Linked DNA regions of Homo sapiens: region 1 is linked to region 2. Evidence: promoter capture Hi-C in 16 types of primary human blood cells and fetal thymus (Javierre and others, 2016). All regions are on one chromosome and are shown on one strand. The core of a region is centred on a gene start or on the middle of the fragment in contact, and the rest is flanking DNA. Distances in the headings are between cores, read along the strand shown. Region 1 overlaps AZIN2 (antizyme inhibitor 2). Region 2 holds the start of ZSCAN20 (zinc finger and SCAN domain containing 20).

What was found. The method cuts DNA at HindIII sites, captures the fragments that hold promoters and counts their contacts. A CHiCAGO score of 5 or more calls a contact.
Region 1: a contact is called between a fragment that was not itself captured here and the fragment with the promoter of ZSCAN20 in region 2, in 1 of 17 cell types (endothelial precursors). The highest score is 5.8, in endothelial precursors.

The regions. Positions count from the first base shown.
Region 1 is chr1:33,109,733-33,115,779 of GRCh38, forward strand. The region is part of intron 10 of AZIN2 (antizyme inhibitor 2); the gene reads left to right. Among named protein-coding and RNA genes, the nearest start is that of AZIN2, 32 kb to the left of the region's middle. The HindIII fragment of the contact is 1,762 bases long and covers 3,869-5,630 here.
Region 2 is chr1:33,469,016-33,475,183 of GRCh38, forward strand. ZSCAN20 (zinc finger and SCAN domain containing 20) reads left to right here and starts at 3,630. Exons shown (of 8, transcript NM_001377376.1): 1 at 3,630-3,676. RefSeq lists an enhancer at 1-203 and a silencer at 1,593-1,887. The HindIII fragment of the contact is 14,362 bases long and covers 1-3,783 here.

The DNA of each region.
Region 1 (6,047 bases), core at 3,500-5,999, 360 kb before region 2:
TTTTTTTCTGTAGTGCTTATTACCTTCTAACATACTATATAATTTACTTGTTTGCCTCCCCCCTGCTAAACTGTAAACCCCAAGAGGACAAGGACCTTTGTGTATTTTGTTTATTAGTGTGTCCCAAGCATACAAAACAGTGATTATCCAAATATGTATTAAATGGCAACCTAATTCTGAAACTGGATTTTTGTTTTGGAGTGTATGCTGAATCATGGTAGCATTGACCTTCAGTTTTGATATCTGTGTGGGTTCCTAGGGCCTAGTCAAGATGGAGAATCCAATAGGATGCCCTTACATAGAGCTGAGAACCCAAAAGAAGTACATCCTTAGTGTAAGAGTCAACTAGAGAAAAAAGCCCATTCTACAGAGAATGGCAGCAAGAAAACTTCACTGTTTTGATCTTGGTAGTGATTGGAAGAGAGAAAAAAATTGAGATTTTGTAACCACAAGCCAGCCTTCTTTTGGGCTTATGGCCCAAATTCACATTAACTATGGTCTGAAAAACCTTAAGCCTCAAAATAATTTCATCTAGCAGAAGCAAACAAATTCTCTCTGGAGGAGGAATCTTCAGTTTAGGCTTCTCACTGATAAGGTTTCAAAGTACATGAGCTCACAGTCAAAAATCACAACATACAAAGAAACAAGTCATCGTGAGGAAGAACCGCAAAAGCAATAGGTAGCAGATCAGACCTGCGTTTACTTCATATATTGGAATTATCAGGTGCTAACATTCTTTTACAATGTTTGAAGAAATAAGAAATTGAAAATATGACCAAAGAATAAGTGAATATAAAAATATGTTGTAGCAGATTTTAAAAAGGATTAAATAGAACTAGAAATGAAAAATATGAAAATTGAAATTATGGCCAGGGTAAGCAGCATATTAGAGACAACAGAAGAGAGAATGAGAGAATGGGAAGATAGAGTTGAAGAAAGTATCCAAATGTAGCACAGAGACAAAAAGATATAAAATAGGAAAGGCTAAGGAAATGGTGCATAGAGTCAGAAGGCATAATGTCCAATCATAGTTTCAGGAAGAGACTGTATCAGGATACAAATGTCACACTAGTAATTTGAACAGGGAAATTTTAACATAAAGAATGGTTAACTGTAAAGGTGGTTCATTACAATTACTAAAAGGGGTAAAATCAGCTACCACCCCTGGTCCTGAGGGAGAGTGAAGAAGGCAGGAACTTAGAAACACAGAGGAGGAGGGCTCCTCCCTCCAAGGCTGATATTGAAACCTTTGAGGAGAGGCTGCAGTGTCACAGAAACAGCAGTCCACCAGTGGCAAACTTGTCAGAGGGTGACTACTGCAACAATCCATGCAGCACAGAAGCAGCCTGCTGCTGAGTGGGGGAGAATCTTGCTGGAAGGTGCAGGCCAGGGCTGAACTGTGAAGGCCACTAAGGCGAATGCTACCATGTACTTGCTGGGTAACCTTAGGCAAGTTACTTAATCTCTCTGAGTCTTACTTCTCTAGCTTGGAAAATGAGGGGGCTGAACTTTAATTACTAATGTTGCTTCTTTTTTTGAAGTGAGGCCATTCCAGTGTATCTTCACAAAGTTAGAGTTGGTTCCTTATTGAAATGGTCTGTCTTCATTGTGGGGTTTTGTTTTGATTTTTCTGTAGTTTTGATCAAGAATAGATGGTACAGCTATTGAATGCCACGTTGAGATGTTAAAATGTAAATGTATAGAGTAACCACTACAAGAATAGAAATAAGATAATATAACTTCTAACACAGAAAGTAATTAAAATAGTTTAGTTTTGATCCCAGCATAAGAAATAGACCAGCTGAGGCAAACTGGGGGGAATATTGAAACACATATATAATTGATAAGAGATTAGTAGACAAAATATATGAATAATTTTTTTTTTTTTTTCCTGAGACGGAGTCTTTTTCTGTCGCCCAGGCTGGAGTGCAGTGGCTCGGCTCACTGCAACCTCTGCCTCCCAGGTCCAAGCAATTCTCCCACCTCAGCCTCCCAGGTAGCTGGGTTTACAGGCACACGCCACCGTGCCTGGCTAATTTTTGTATTTTTTTTAGTAGAGGTGGGGTTTCACCATGTTGGCCAGGCTGGTCTTGAACTCCTGACCTTGTGATCCACCCACCTCGGCCTCCCAAAGTGCTGGGATTACAGGCGTGAACCACGGCGCCCGGCCTGAAGAATTCTTAAGTAAGGAATAGAGACAAACAAGAATCTCAAGAAAATAAGGAAAAAAGCAACCCAATAGAAATACAGGCAAGAGACTTTACCGGGCAATTCACAGAAGATAAACTGAAAAGGTGCTCAGTGGTAATCAAGGAAATGCAAATAAAAGTGAAAACGAGATACCATTTCATAACAACTAGATTAGAAAAACATTAAAAGCATGATAATGCCAACTGTTGGTGAGGATATGGTGTAGTTGGGTCCTTAGGCACTGCTAGGTGGCAGTGGTGTATCACTACTTTGGGAAACAAGTAGGCATTATTCAGATAAATTTGCACATATGTATGTCCTACATTACAGCAAGTTCCTAGGCCTATATTGTAAAGAAACTCTTGGCATGTGTGTTCGAGGAGATATATCAGAACATATATATCTTTATAATATAAAACATTGGAAATGACCTTAATGTTTATTGGCAGGGTAGCAGAAACATAAATTATGGTGTATTCTGTACAGTGAATTCTATACAGTGTATTGTGAACTTGTAGAGATTACATACTCTATAATTTATATAAATCTCAAAAGTGTGCAAAACTAAACAATACATTGTTTAGGGTTAGGTACACTCATGGAAAACAAAGTAAGAAAATGATGAACATGAAAGTGAGGATGGTGGTTACCTCTAAAGAGGTTAGGAAAGAGGAGATGTCATTGGAGTGGGCACATAGGGAGTTTCAAAGATACTGGAAATTTTATCTTTCTTCAGTTGGGTGGTAAGTACACAGATATTCATTTTATTGTCATTCGTTATATCTTAGACATGATACAAATATTCTTTTGTATAAATTATTTAACAAAAACTGAGTTTGTCATTTGCTTTATTATTATTCTTTGATAGGCTCACATTTATTCTTTTATCACATTATTTCTAATGTTTAGAAAAACATCCTGGGGATTTTAATTAGTAATAGTTTATTTAATCTAGTTATTAAATTAGGGAGAATTCTCTTTTTTGCTTTACTAAGTTTTTCTAGCTAGGACAGTGTAAACTTCATATCTTTTATTTCTTCCATGAAGGTTTTATTTATTTATTTTTTTTGAGACGGCGTCTCGCTCTGTTGCCCAGGCTGGAGTGCAGTGGTGCAATATCAGCTCACTGCAACCTCCACCTCCCAGGCTCAAGCGATTCTCTTGGGAGGCCTCAGCCTCCCAAATACCTGGGACTACAGGCGCCCGCCACCATGCCTGGAGAGATGGGGTAGAGATGGGGTTTCACCGTGTTAACCAGGATGGTCTCGACCTCCTGACCTCATGATCTGCCTACCTCTGCCTCCCAAAGTGTTGGGATTCCAGGCGTGAGCCACCGCGCCCAGCTGGTTTTATTATTTTTTTATTGTTTTATTTGAATAAGTATTACTGTGGCCCAAGTACATCCAAGAATGTAATAGCTTAATGCTTTCACTACTATTGTGAGTGAAAACTTTTCCCTGTGTTTTTGAGCTGAGATGCTGGCTTGCATTCTAAAATTCATTGATTTCCTCTAGTAACCACACCCACCCCCTTAAGATTTTCCAGGTGGGCAAATACGTTATCTGCAGTGTAATATTTTATTTCTTCATCTTCTATGTATTATGCTTTTTTGTTTCTTTTTTTCTGATAGCTATTGCTAGCATTTCTCATCATATATAAAATGGGAATGATGACAGAAAGCTTCAGACTTGGAATCAGAAGACATGGGTTTGAGACCTGGCTCTGCCATAGACCAGCTGAGTAACCTTAGGCAAAGCAAGCTACTTAATCTCTCTGAGCCTTGTTTCTCTAGTTTCTCCATTTGGAAAATGACAGGGCTGAACTTCAGTGTATCTCAATGAAGTCAGAGTTGGATCATTATTTAAAATAGTCTCTCTTCATTGTGGGGTTTTGTTTTGTCTGTAGTTTTAATAAAGAATAGATGCTACGGGCTACTTCATGGTATGTTGACATGTATTGGGAAAATTAAACTTGAACTGTAGATCTATATTTTCCATGTTATGAAGCCAGTGATTGACTTCTCTCCTGTTGTCTGCACCTTTCATTTTAGAGATAATATGACTGTGAATTTGGTTAGCTAAGATTTCATGTCAGGTTTTTGCCTATATATTCACAAGTGAGATTTTGGCCATAGGGTTTTTTTTTCTTTTTATCTCATTTTTGTCTTTTAAAATATTTTTGTACGAATTATTGATTTATTCTTTTCTTTTTTTTTTTGAGATGGAGTCCTGCTCTGTCACCCAGGCTGGAGTGCAGTGGTGCGATCTCAGCTCACTGAAACCTCCGTCCGGGTTCAAATGATTCGCCTGTGTCAGCCTCCTGAGTAGCTGAGATTACAGGCGCCTGCCACCATGCCTGGCTAATTTTTTTGTATTTTTAGTAGAGACAGGGCTTTACCATGTTGGCCAGACTGGATGATTTTTTTTTCTTTTCTTTTTTTTTTTTTTTTGAGATGGAGTCCCGCTCTGTCGCCCAGGCTGGAGTGCAGTGGCGCAATCTCGGCTCACTGCAAGCTCCACCTTCCGGGTTCACGCCATTCTCCTGCCTCAGCCTCCCAAGTAGCTGGGACTACAGGCGCCCGCCACCATGCCCGGCTAATTTTTTGTATTTTTAGTAGAGACGGGGTTTCACCGTGTTAGCCAGGATGGTCTCGATTTCCTGACCTCGTGATCCACCCACCTCAGCCTCCCAAAGTGCTGAGATTACAGGCATGAGCCACCGCGACCCGCCTTTTTTTTTTTTTTTTTTTTTGAGATGGAGTTTTGCTCTTGTCACCCAGGCTGGAGTGCAATGGCTGGATCTTGGCTCACTGCAACCTCTGCCTCCTAGGTTCAAGCGATTCTTCTGCCTCAGCCTCCTGAGTAGCTGGGATTACACGCCCAGCTAATTTTTGTATTTTTAGTAGCGACAGGGTTTTGCCATGTTGGCCAGGCTGGCCTCAAACTCCTGACCTCAAGTGATGCGCCCGTGTCCGCCTCCTAAAGTGCTGGGATTACAGGCGTGAGCCACCGCGCCCAGCCTATTGATTTATTCTTTAAAAGTTGAAGAATTATTTAGGGATTCCATCAAGGCCGTGCACCTTTTTCAATGTTTGACCTTGTTTTTTCTGTGGCTCTGTCAGACATATGTGCCTTTGAAGAAGGCAGCTAGGTGCAGCCAGGAGGCTCCTTGTCTGGGACTGCCCAGAGTTCTACTAACTCCCCCTAGAGCCTTGGGCAGGTCACCTTCCCTCTCTGAGTTTTCTCATCTGTAAAATGGGAATGCAATCATGCCACCTGCCTCCCAGATAAGGTATGAAGTGGTGGTGGTATGCTTTGTAAATGAGGAACCCCCTGCCCTCTCTCACAGAGGGGCCTAGTGGCTGGCAGACTGGGCATCTTGGATTTTTGCAGATGCTTGTCCATTTCCACTCAGACTTGTAAAAATAGCTGAGATTTACAAGCTTGTTGCCACAGCTTTTAGAATATTTATTTCACAGATTCCTTAAAAAAAAAAAAATAGGCTGGGTGCAGTGGCTCACACCTGCAATCTCAGTACTTTGGAAGGCCGAGGTGGCGGATCACCTGAGGTCAGGAGTTTGAGACCAGCCTGGCCAACATGGCAAAATCCTGTATCTACTAAAACTACAAAAATTAGCCAGGTGTGGTGGCCGGCACCTGTAATCTCAGCTACTCGGGAGGCTGAGACAGGAGAATCGCTGAACCCAGGAGGCAGAGGTTGCAGTGGGCTGAGATCACACCACTACACTCCAGCCTCGATGACAGAGTGAGACTCTGTCTCAAAAAAAAGTTAAATAGATACATAAATAGTAAAAGCGTAGCTTTGCATTATGTCATGTGAAGATTTAAAATCTTTTT
Region 2 (6,168 bases), core at 2,380-4,879:
AAGCCAGCTTGGCAGGGAGATAGTGAGTATGTGTGGGCTATGAGACTGAACTCAGTTTTTAGTAGAAGGTGGGGCTACTGTGTGTGCAAGGGAGAATCAAATGGGAACACAGGCTTTGGGAAGGCTCTGGAGGCTGAATAAGAAAATCTGGGAGATGGCAGGTGGCCATGTGGTACGTAATGTAATCTCAAGATCTCCAAACCCTCAATAAATGTACTAAATCCATGAATGCTTGGCTTGATTGAATTTTTTTTTTTTGAGATGCAGTTTTGCTCTTGTTGTCCGGGCTGGAGTACAATGAGGCAGAAGGTGAAAGGGTTGGATTCACAGAAACTGTAGTCCAGAGGAAATAAGGTTGGAAATTCATGGAGAGAGAGGGCAAAGAGAGAAGCCTTTGGCCAGTCCTAAGCTGTGGAATGGGGTCCAGGTCAAGTTCAACCAGATCTTCAAGGGGCCAAGGGACCCCTTTTGCCATCTGGGTTATAGAGGGATTGGCAGCTAAGGATCAAAAAGCTGGGATGCTGCCCAGGAGACAGCAGACTGATTGCCTGTTCCCTCAATAAAAAACATGAAGGCCTGTTCCCATCTATCTCCAGTTAAGCCTCATAGCAACACTGGGAGGAGAAGCCTACCCCCTTGTCACTCTGTACTCTGACTATGCTAGACTACCTGTGGGTCCCAGGACATCATCACACCTTTTGTCTCTGGGCCATTGCATATGCTGTTCTTGCACTGAAAAATACCTTTTCCCTGGGGAACTCTTAAGTATTATTTAAGATGCAGTTCAGCCATCACTTTCTTCAGAAGCCTTTCCTGATCTCCCAGCCTAGATAACTGTTGCCCCTGGGCTCCCACAATTTCCTGCACCTCCCTTTCTCAAAGGACTGATCACAGGCCTGAAAGCCACAGAAATAGTGGTCTCCAAAGCTGAGTGCACAAGATTATCACACTATGGTTGCAAAGAAACTGTTATAACTTCTATTTCTATTTTTTAAAAATCTTACCTTATTCTGAAGCTAGACTGCCTGCTTTTTTAGCCACGTGCCGTTAGCATGTTATTTAACCTCTCTATACCATAGTTTCCTTTTCTGTAATATGGGATAGTGTTAGACTCTCCCTCAAAGGGTTTTGGATGTATTAAATGAGTTAATACATATAAAGCACTGAGAGAAGGACCTAATAATGCATTGCAAATGTTCAAGGAAAGTTAGCTATTACAGGCACATCATTTATAAGTAAATAAATACACATATGTTGGGAGTGTGTGCTCAACTCAAAAACTCAAAAAGGCTTCACTTATGGGAGCGCTCTATTGGGAAAGTTTAGAGATCAGGCCCTGGGGTCAGAGACCAGGTTTGCTTCATCTCTGCATCCTTAGAGCCTAGTGTCTGCCCAAATCAGAGAGAGTCCTGGTAGACAAATGCAGACAGAACGCTTGCAAACCAAATCCTGATGGGTGCTGAACCAGAGAGAACCTGGAACAGGTTCAGGCTCTGTTGCTTATTTCTACACGGCACTAAAGGGCAGTTGGCCTCTTGAGGACTTCGTTAGTTTTTTCTCTTCTGTAGAATGCCAGGCTTTAATTAGACAAAGGCTAAGGGAAACCATAGAATAATTCGAGGCTGTATTGAGGGCGAGGCGCGCCCTCTTGTGTCCTAATGATGTCCTCTCCTCTCTCTGCACACTCGCCTCCCTTCTTCCTCTTAGGGCAGATGATGCTGAAGTGGACACGTCCTTACCTGACCCTGCAAAGCTGCCTCTCCAGCTTCAGATCCTGACACTCTCTCAAATGTTTCCGGCTCCCTTGGCACCCCACACTGTTGCACTGTCCCTCCCCATCTCAAACCCTCCTACTTCCACATATGGTCTCTTCCTCATGCAGTGTAGGACCTTTGGAGTCACATGCCTAGGGGGTGACAAATCGCAGCCCTGGTTCTTATTGGCTCTGTGATCTTGAGTAGGTCACTTCGTTTCTCTAAGTCTCATTCCCTCTTTGTAAAGTGGAGCAAACAATACCAATCTCATAGGGCTACTGTGAGACTTCAACACCAAGGAGTATTTACGGGTTGTTATTATGTTTACTGAGTAAAATCACATGAGTTATTACTACAAATAAGTTGGAACATGTTTCACAGAGAAGGAATTTAAACTGGGTCGTTAAAGCTAAGAATTCTCCTATTTTAACACTAGCCAACATGCATTGAGCTCTTACCAGATGCTAGGTATTGTCAATTTTCCCTAAGCCGCATAACCATTGGTAATAATAATAATAGCTAATGATTATGTATATTATTGTATTTTCTATTTTTTAAAATAGAGACGAGGTCTCACTTCGCTGCCCAGGCTGGTCTCAAACTCCTGGACTAAAGCGATCCTTCCGTCTCAGCCTCCCAGAGGGCTGGGATTACAGGCATGAGCCTCCGTGCCTGGACTAGCTAATGATTATTAAACACTTTCTGTGTGTCAGACATGTGTCACGCTCTTTACATACCTTCTCCCATTTATTCCTCTCAACAACTGTCTCAGGAAGAGGCAAGTATTATCATTCCCATTTTACAGCTGGGAAAATGCAGGCATAAAGAAGCTAAGTAATTTGCCCAAGGTTTCACAACGCGGGTGGTATGACCTGCATCCTTCATTTGAAAGTAAGAACTTTCAGACACAAGCAGCTTGACTTCAGAGACTTTTACCTAAATAGTCTCATTTAACCTTCATAACACCCTGTGATGTAAGTTCTCTTACATTACTTGCATTTTATAGATGAAAATTCCAAAGACAAAATAGATGGCAGTAATTTGTTCAAGGCCACACAGCTGCGAAGTAGTTGAGTTGGGATTTGGATCCATGTCTGACTACAAAGCCCCCATTCTCAACACCACATTAGATTGTTCATGCCCCAAAGTATTCACAGTGGTACAGAGCACCCGCATTTATATGAGGATTATTTTGTAATAATGATTAACATTCTTCCAACACCTAGGAAGTGCCAAGCTCTGTACTAACTGATTTACATAATAATAGCTAACAATCGCTGTGCATTATTAGGAGCCAGGCCCTGAGCTAATCGTTTTAGGTGTATTATCTCATTGAAAGTTCACAAAACTCTGTGACATGGATGCCATTACTACCCTCATTTTATGGTTGAAGAGAACGAGGTTCAGAATTCTTCCAAAGTCACACAGCTTAGCTGTAAGCTGGAAATTAAAGCTACAACTGTCCAGTTCTCTCCTGCCTATCGGGCTGGTCACCTCTAGTCATTCTCTCTTCTTATTTCTTATTGTGTCTGCTTTGATCTTTCAGGGTCTGAGGCTCTCACTTCGACCCCTCAGTAGAACTGGGCCCCCTTCTGCTCGAGTGCCCTCCCATTGGGCGGTGCTGTTATCCGGAAGCCTATGGAAAAGGCCAGGATCGCAACAGGTCCCGCCCCCATGTGTCGCGCCCGTTCCGATTTGTTCCAGTGCCAGGGTCCGTTAGAAGATGACATATCTATTGGCTGAAGACGTCTGAAAGGCAGCAAACGGAGGGGGCCGCCCCCGGCGCTCGCGCGGTTCCTTCTGGGAATTGTGGTCTCAGACGTTCCATTCCCAGGGTGGCGCCGCTCGGACTCCGCGTCCCAGCATTCCCCGCACGAGCCCGGGAGCACTTCCGCCCTGTTGTGAAGTGGGTGTCTCGGTGGGTGAGTCCGGGTGGCGGGGCGGGGGCAGCTGAGACGCAGGCTCTGGGCTGGAGACTTAGGAGGTGGTGGTGACACAGGGGGCTGGGGAAGGTGAGAGGGGAGAAAGAAGCTTATATGTGGGGGTGGAGGGTGAGGGACGGTCAAAGGATGTAGAGGCCGGAGATGGGAAGGGTCATACAGGGGTCGGGGATGAGGAGGCGATAGAGGGCCCTGGGAATGAGGAGGGCCTTAGAAGGGTCTGAAGGTGAGGGGGTTGAGGGAGGTTTTGGAGGTGGGAGAGTCATAGAAAGGTCTGGAGACCACAGAGGAAAGGATAGAGGGTCTGGGGCCCTGGCAAGAAGTGAAGAGGGCCTGAGCTTGAAGCCCGACCTTAAAAATAGTGTTTCAATCTCTACCTTCCCATCTAGAACAAGCATATCTAATTTGTTACCTCCCTAATGATTGTTACCTCTGGAACCCAGTGGATGGGACTGGCTATTGTGTTCTGCCCCAAACCTGCACTTCTTTCCTTATGTCTTATGGAAGTCAGTGGCACGATCATCCCATTTACCTACCTACCTACCTACTTACCCACTGATTCCTCTTGCATTCTTCCACGTCCAAGGATCTTCCGATCTTTAATTTCTTTAATATCTTTTCAGTCGGCCTCTTTCTTGTAGGGTTTTCGCAGAAGCCTTTTCAGTTTCCCAGCATGAACACACACATTGCACCTAGTGTGATCTGTTTCACCTACAAATCTGATTATGCCTTCTGCTTGAAAACTTTCATTGGCACCCAGCACCTGTAAAGTCCAAACACCTTGTCCTTCATAAACTCCTTTTGCAGCCTAATCTTCATGCACCTCACACTCCAGGGCTGTCAAGGTTTTCCTCGTTTCCTGGGTAGGCCATTTGGTTTTCCATCATTATATATGCTGTTCTCTCAGCTTAGAATATTCTCTCCTTGCCCTTCACCTTCTTTGCCAAGAGAACTTCTTTAACTTAAAAAAATTTCAACTCTTACTTTGCTCAATTCCCTTAAGCAAATTAAGTCACCCCCAACCCTCAGCTCCCATAACTTCTCCTATTACCACATTTGATCATAATTATCTGTGAAGTGTGTGTCTCTTCCATTAGACTGTGAACATCTCCAGGACAGGAACAGTGTCTCAATCACCTCTGTTTCCCCATTGCCCAGTCTAGAGCAGTAAACACTTGATGTAAAGCAGTAAATACTTGATGTATGTATGTGTGAATGAAGACCATGCAGGGTAAGCTTTGCTATACCAGCCTTGAAGACTTCTATTGCCAGTGGATTTCCAGGGCAGGAGCTTTAGTCTTCCTCTGCCTGGCAAGGCTATCTGCTGGAAGCTGAAGCTGATTCATTGCCAATGGGAGTTTAAGCCAGGGGTGACAAATACATGGAATGTGTGCTGCCAGTGCCCCTTCCTGTGTCCCTGGCAGTCATGGCTAATTGGTTGGTTCTCAGCACATATTCACACTGTACTCAGAGCCCTCAGCACACTACTCTAGGCAGCCACTTCCAGTTGATTGAAGTTTCTGCTTTAAATGAAACCTATTTGCTCTCCCTGGCTTAAGCCCTTATGTGTGAGGTCAGGTCAGACTGCTTTAAGCCATAGCTTGGACTGTCAGCCAAATGGGCCTGACAGCCTTTAAGAGTTCCCAGTTTTTTCTCTTTGGAGGTCACAGACCAGTCTTGGCCTTTCCTGTGGAACTGGAGAGCATCTTCTCTTCCCTTTTCACTGAGTGGGCTCCTCATGACCACGTTCATACTTACTGCCCTAGGAGTCAAGATGCCCCTCAGCTTCCCTGTGTTTGTAAAGACATCTTGATTTTGATGGCAGTCAGCACTTATCCCTCATGACCTGGGAGGCTCTGTACTCTTTCTAGGTCTTTCTGGATATTGGAAGAGAGCTTTGAGATCACTTAGCTGAATCTAAGTGGCAAAGCGACAGCCCATGCTGAATGAAGTCCACCATCATGCTTTATTTAATCTCATAGTGTGTGAAAAAATTTTGAGTTGGTTACCAACATTTAAAAATCCAGAGTGCTAGTTTCTTTTGGAAAAATCAGCAGGCTTAGGAATATTCTGGGCATATGTTCCCCTGGCACTCTATAGTTGGCTGTAGTGCCCACCCAGTTCATTTCAGTCATTGACTCATTTACATTGCTAGGTCCTTATACCCATTTAAACTTGTAGCCACTGACTCTAGTCTCCCTTCTCCCTTGCTCTACCCCATCATACTAATTGGGGAACCTAGGGCAACTGCTGAGTAAGATCAGGCTGTAAGCTGCAGCCTAGCTAGGCAGCCACAGGGGCTACATAACTTGTCCAAAGTAACACAGCTGATTAGTGGCAGGAGTGGAACTAGAACCCCAGTCTGCTCACTCCTGCCTTAATGTTCTTTCCATTCTCCCGTACTGTCATCTTAAGAGTTTGGATGACTAGCACACATAGAGGAGGCTATAAGACATGGTTAAGAAAAATGATTG